Regions from separate parts of the Homo sapiens genome. Here region 2 is linked to region 1. Evidence: promoter capture Hi-C in human tissues and cell types (Jung and others, 2019). All regions are on one chromosome and are shown on one strand. The core of a region is centred on a gene start or on the middle of the fragment in contact, and the rest is flanking DNA. Distances in the headings are between cores, read along the strand shown.

Region 1 (3,097 bases), core at 56-2,555:
CCTGCTTGGAGAACCTGTTCTCAGTTTCCATTTGTTACATAATGGACAAGAGGACCAGCACTTTTGCTCAGAGCTGCAGCTCTGGTTCCGCTAGGAAATGCCAGGCAGGGGCACAGCCAAGTGGTTCTCAGACAGTAAACCCCAAGCCACAGACCCTTGCTTTCTTGGGCAGGGAGTAGTGGACAGGGCTGACTCCAGGCAACAGTCCCAAACAGGCTGCACCAATGTGACCGCACCTCCCCTGAGTGCAGGCAAGGGGTGCTGTGCTCACGCTCTCAGCCTGGGTGCATCCTTACTTTGTTCACAGCTCCTCTATCGGACCCATTTCACTGAGGCTCAGCGAGGTTACCTATGTCGCCCCAGGTCACCATCCAGTAACCCAGAAAGCTTCTCTTGGCTCCTCCACTAACTGCGTGATCTTGGACAAGTCAGTTACTGTCTCTGAAAGCCAGTTCTCCTCCTTAAAATGGAGACAGTTGAGCCAGGCATGCTGGTTTATGCCTGTAATCCCAGCACTTTGAGAGGCGGAGGCAGGAGGATCGCTTGAGCTCAGGAGTTTGGGACCAGCCTGGGCAACATAGTGAGGCCCCCATCTCTATAAATTTTTTTTTTAATTAGCTGGGTGTGGCAGTGTGCCCCTGTGGTCCCAGCTACTCAGGAGGCTGAGGTGGGAGGATCACTTGGGCCCGGGAGGTCAAGGCTGCAGTGAGCCCTGATCGCGCCACTGCACTCCGGCCTGGGAGACAGAGTGAGATCCTGTCCAAAAAAAAAAAAAGGAGACAGTCCCATAACAAGCCCCCCATGGCGCCGCCCAGATGGGGTTTCGACGCCAGGGAGAGGAGGGAAAGGGTTATCAGGGAAGGTTCCTGGTGGCAGAGCTCACAGGGTCCGTGCTGAGCCGAATTTTGCACGGTAGCCTCAGAGTCCCGGAGCCGAGTCCAGAGGGCGGGATGCAGGTATTGCGAAGAGGCACACGCTCCGAGAGGAACCACCAGAGCGTGGGCTTTGGGCGAGGAGGGGTCTCCTCTGGTTGGGGGAGATCTGGCAGGCTTGGGGGAGATGGGGCTGAAAGGATGGACAGGGAGGGAAGGCCAGAAAGCTGGAGACGGGGATGGAGAGCTAAACCGCAAAGAGCAGGCGCCCTGCCCCGCTGAGGGCCCCGCGCCTCCAGCTCCTCCTTCCCGAGCTTCCCGGGGTCGGCGTCCAGCCGGCAACCAATGGGCCCCGCCCCCGCCCGCAGCCAATGGGCCGCGTCCCCGCCCGCGCGGCCGCCCCGCCCCTCGCGGACCCGGAAGTGGGCCTGGCACCTTCCCGGCCTGCCGCAGGGATGGGGCAGCTGTGCTGGCTGCCGCTGCTGGCACCGCTCCTGTTGCTGCGACCGCCAGGGGTCCAGTCCGCCGGCCCCATCCGGGCCTTCGTGGTGCCCCACAGCCACATGGACGTGGGCTGGGTCTACACTGTGCAGGTAGGTGCCGACCACGCCCCGCGCGCCCCTGAGGCTGCAGCTTCCCTCTCCCCGCGGGATCTGAGTGTGGGTTTGCGTCCCGGGGCCCGATGCCGGCGCAGAAGGAGGCTCAGTGGGTTCAGGACCCCACGCTGCCATTGACTGGTTGCGTCGCTAACTTCGGGCCAGTCACTTCCTGCCTCTGAACCCCCATTTCCCCTTCTGGAGGGTGGTGCAGATTGGAGGGACCCCTGCATTCCCGGCTGGGGAGGGGCTTGGGGGTTGACAGTGGTAACCCATTTTCCAGGGAAGCCTGGAGCAGGAGAGGGTGGGGCTGGCTTCAGAGCAGGTGGATGTCAGGTGCCCGCTGGGAAGGGGCCGGGCTGGTCCCCTGCGGGGCTGAATATTGGAGGCCAGCTCAGCGTCCTCCGCCCCCCAGGACAGGGGTGAAGGTGGACCTGTGGTCACCTCCTGGTTCTGCTCAGGACCTTGGGCGAGGGGCTTTGGTCCCTAAGCCTCAGTTTCCCCATCTGTAAAGGGTAGGGGAAGCATGCCCACTACAGCCAGTTTCCAGAGGAGAAAACCGAGGCCCAGAGAGGGTTGCTGCCTTGCCCAAGGTCGCTCGGGAATAACCCTCATGCCTCCTGACTCCCTGCTCGGTGCTCCTTCCATTCATGTAAGCACTCTGTGGGCACCCTGTGTGCAGGGCCCTCGGGACTCGGATGGGAACACACTACAGCTGTGGTCCTTGGAGCTCCCAGCCTTGGGGAGGCAGACGCCTAGACGCCAGGGACAGCCTGGGGAGCTCTTCCTCTCAGCACCAGCTTTCCTCATTTCAGCCCCAGCAGGCCCCTTTGGGGTCACTGGACCACACCCCGACTGAGGCCTAAGACTTTCCTGTGCTGCCCCTCAATGGCACACTCAGGGCCCAGCCCCCCAAATTGCACACTCAAGGCCCAGCTTGCTCACCCCTCTGAGAAACTGTCCCTGACCCCTGGGCTGGGAGGGCACCTGTCTCTGCCCATGTAGGGTGTCTGTTTCCCCGTCCCTCTCCCCCAGGAGAGCACGATCCCATCCAGTGGGGAGAGCCTGGTATGGAGCGAGTGCCTAATAGCTGTGTGGGGGGTGAGCAGCAGGGAAGGAAGGGCAGAGCCCCCAACCCCATGCAGACACACCTGGCGAATGGCAGGGGCCCCAGGGACACTTGGTCTTGTTGGACCGGGGCTGGCATGATGCTGTCCCCTCCCCAGGAAAGCATGCGGGCGTACGCCGCCAATGTCTACACCTCAGTGGTGGAAGAGCTGGCCCGCGGCCAGCAGCGCCGGTTCATCGCTGTGGAGCAGGAGTTTTTCCGGCTGTGGTGGGATGGCGTCGCCTCGGACCAGCAGAAATACCAGGTAATGAGGTCACCAGGTGACACAGTTGGCCCAGTATCCTGGCAAAGACCCAGGTGGAAAACTCAATGGGGCAGTTCTAGCCAGGGCCAGGGCCAGGCTGGCATAAACCACAGGGCCAAAACCCCACCGGGCTATTCACAGCCTTGTTTAGATCAAGGTTCACGGTGAGTTCCATGCCTGGGAGAGATTGCTTTCAATTTAATCCTGAATTTCTGTCTATTCTTGAAAAAACTGCCAGCTCTGGCAACCCAGCTGT
Region 2 (3,400 bases), core at 512-3,011, 52 kb before region 1:
GCTCACATGAGCTACCATCAATTAGACACGCACTCTTTACCAACTGCCTCCAGGATCTTCTCATTCACCAGGGCTCCCCTCTCCCATGATCTAGCCAGAAAGCGGGGACTTCAATGTATCATTCAGGTGGGTTAGAAGCTTCTGCCATTCATTGAGCCCCCTCAAGGCCCTAACAAGGGACACCCCACACAGTGGCTTCCTCCCAGTGCTCCAGAGAGGAGCCCACCCATTCAGTGTGGCTTCATCTCCCTGCGTATGCACTTCTTAGGAGTCGTCTCAGGAGCCCTAACCCACGTCCCACCCCTCCAGGGCCCTCCTCTCCTCCCTCGAGGTGATGTGAGTTCATACGTAGGAGGCACTTACACAGGAGCTGGTACCGCTTCCCCTGGACTGGCCACCGGTCCCCTTTCCAGGGGGCCACTCTCCCTTGCCACACACTGCATCTGCAGAACAGCCCATTTGTGAGCATTTACTACCATCCAAGAGCTAGCTATGAGGGAGGAATTATTGCTACCCTCATATTACAAATGAGGAAACTGAGGCACAGCTCACGGAAGAGCCGGGAAGCACACCAGGCCATCTGCCTCCAGAGCCACCCACTAAACCTGCCTCCAGCGGTGACTACTTTGCTCTTATTGGGTTCTGTTCTCCCCAAGAGGCAAGGGGGCCCCTAAGCCAATGGCTTTGGGGGCCATGACAAGTGGGGGCCACTGAGCTCTGGGAACAGAGAAGTGTTGTTTCCAAACCTCACCCGATGGGCCTGTCTCTGTGAAATGCACCGCTCCTGCCTGCACTCTCCCGGCCACTCACAGCTCCCTCCCACCCACTCTCCTGCCTTCTCCCTGCCTTTCCTGGTCCCTTGGCCTGGAGTCTGCCCTACCCCAGGAAGAGGGTATCTGGGACTCCAACAGAGGCAGAAAGTTGCTGCCTTTAACCCTTTTCTGAGACCCCAAAATGTAAGTACCCAGGAAGGCTGATGTCATTCAGTAGTTGTTCAAATGAACATAACCCCAGCCGTGCTGGGAGCACTCCCGGGCATTACCAATCCTCACTGTAGAGGTGGGAAATTGAGGCTGGCGAGGTCCACAATGTGCCCCCCCAGACCCCACAGCTGGGGACACAAGTGAATCCAGACCTGAGATTCCAAGACCCTCATGCTTCCCAAGCACCTGCTTCCAGAGCTCCAAGAATTCCCACCCTGTGTTCCCTCCAGCCCCATGTTCCCCACACGGGGATGGCAGGGCTGGGGCCCCCGGAGTCACCGGGCATGGTGGATTCCCCCACAGGAACCACATTGAGCACTGAGTTCTGCTCAAATGTGGGCCCAGGGGCTGGCTGCGTGAGCACCCAGAAGTGGCCACAGGGCACGGAGGGACCAGCTGCACCAGTTTCTGATACCACAGGATGCTGAGGTCTCAGCAGGGGTCTGCCCTGGGGCCCTTCTCCTTGGCCCCTGGTTCTTGGCTAATATCTGCTGAGCCAGACACAGCTCCCACTTTGGAGGCACTCCGCCCAGGAGGGAGACAGACAAACAGACAGACACACCAATAGGGACCATCCCCTGATACTCCTAATGGCTTTCTAAGCACTGTGGGATCCCATTCCTCTCTCACTATTACACAGATGAGGAAGCTGAGGCAGGGAGAGGGGCAGGCCGCAGATGCACAGCAGCCTGGCAGGGGTGGACCGGGGAGGCTCCGAACTCAAGCCTTGGGTCAAGAAGTCATACGTCCTATGGCAAACCCCAAGCCAGTGTTTCTCCAAGTGCGGTTCCAGGGCCTCCTGATCACATTCCCCAGGAGTGTCCTGTTGAGAACCATGTCCAAGGACTGTGCCCTCAGAGGGGCAAGTGCTGCGGAGGGGCAAGAAATCCAGGATGCATCCCAAGCAGCTGCTCCAGAGGAAATAAAGGCCTTCCCTAGCCCCAACCACCAGCTCCCTTATGTTTGAAAGAAAGAACACAAGACTTCAGAGTCAGGCCCACTGGGTTTCTAAGGCTGTCTTCCCTCCTTCTTGCTGTGTGGCCTGGGGCAAGTTACTCACCCTCTCTGATCCTTGTTTTCCTCATGGATGATAACAACAAAAAGACAAACAACCCAATTTCAAAATGGGCAGTGGCCTTGGACACATACATTTCACCGAATGGTCAGCATGCACAGGAAAGGTTGCTCAACGTGATGAGTCATTAGGGAAATCCAAATCAAAGTCACAATGAGACAACGCACACCCACGAGGATGTCTGGAATCCAAATGCAAAGCGAGTGTTGGCTGTTGGGAGAGACGCGGGACCTGCACACACTGCTGGGGGCAGGTGAAGCGGCAGGGCCACCGCAAAAAAAGCTTGGTACCGCCGCAACAAATTAAACCTGGAATTATCCTGTGACCTACCAATTCCACTCCTGGGTGTCTATCACGGAACACTGAAAACACACATCCACATGAACACTGGAACGCGAATGTTCCCAGCAGCCTTATTCATAATGGCCAAACAATGGAAACACCCTAAGTATCCATCCATCCACAGACGAATGGATAAGCAAAATGTGGTCCACTCATACAGTGGAACATATTCAGCCCGGAGAAGGAATGAAGTTTTGTTTTTGTTTTTGTTTTTGTTTTTTTGAGACAGTTTCGCTCTTGTTGACCAGGCTGGAGTGCAATGGCGTGATCTCGGTTCACTGCAACCTCCGCCTCCCAGGTTGAAGCAATTCTCCTGCCTCAGCCTCCCTAGTAGCTGGGATTACAGGTGCCTGCCACCAGGCCTGGCTAATTTTGTATTTTTTTTTTTTTTAGTAGAGACAGGGTTTCACCATGTTGGTCTGGCTGGTCTCGAACTCCTGACCTCAAGTGATCAGCCTGCCTCAGCCTCCCAAAGTGCCGGAATTACAGGCGTGAGCCACTGTGCCCAGTCAGAAGGAATGAAGTTCTAATGCGAGCTACATCCTGGATGAGCCTTGAAAACACTCGGCCAAATGAAAGAAGCTGAATGTAAGTGAACTGCATGATTCCATTTCCATGCACTGTCCAGAACAGGCAGATTCACCGCAACAGAAAGTGGACTCATGGTTGCCAGGGACTAGAAGGAGGAGGAATGGGAGTGACTGCTTACTGAGTATGACAAGTTAAAATTAAGGTTTAATTGAGCAAAAAACGATTCACGAATCAGCTGCTCTCAGAACCAGAACAGGGTCTAGGAATCCACGTCTGCACCGTGATCAGGCAGCATTTATGGACACAAAACGGAAGAGAGGGTCAAGACAGCTTGACTGGTTACAGCTCAGCCTTTGCCTTATTTGAATGGTTGGCCACCTGGGACTGGATTGACAGATGCTCAGCTGCTGTGGTTGGGCCGAGCTTCACCTATTTGTTACAAGAGCCCCTCCTAAGTCAGGCTTCCGTT

Evidence for each region. Contacts are between HindIII fragments. The study calls those that stand out against the background at their distance.
Region 2: a fragment that was not itself captured here is called in contact with the fragment with the promoter of MAN2B2 in region 1 in 2 of the 25 tissues and cell types used here (bladder and dorsolateral prefrontal cortex).

Annotation. Positions count from the first base shown.
Region 1 is chr4:6,573,884-6,576,980 of GRCh38, forward strand. It overlaps MAN2B2 (mannosidase alpha class 2B member 2), which reads left to right and starts at 1,306. Exons shown (of 19, transcript NM_015274.3): 1 at 1,306-1,465; 2 at 2,695-2,841. The coding sequence starts at 1,328. LOC105374365 (a long non-coding RNA gene) reads left to right here. Exons shown (of 3, transcript XR_925098.3): 3 at 308-455. RefSeq lists enhancers at 1-270, 271-1,038, 1,039-1,807 and a silencer at 1,096-1,555. The HindIII fragment of the contact is 15,458 bases long and covers 1-3,097 here.
Region 2 is chr4:6,521,311-6,524,710 of GRCh38, forward strand. It overlaps a transcript of PPP2R2C not described here. Among named protein-coding and RNA genes, the nearest start is that of PPP2R2C, 50 kb to the left of the region's middle. The HindIII fragment of the contact is 6,467 bases long and covers 1-3,400 here.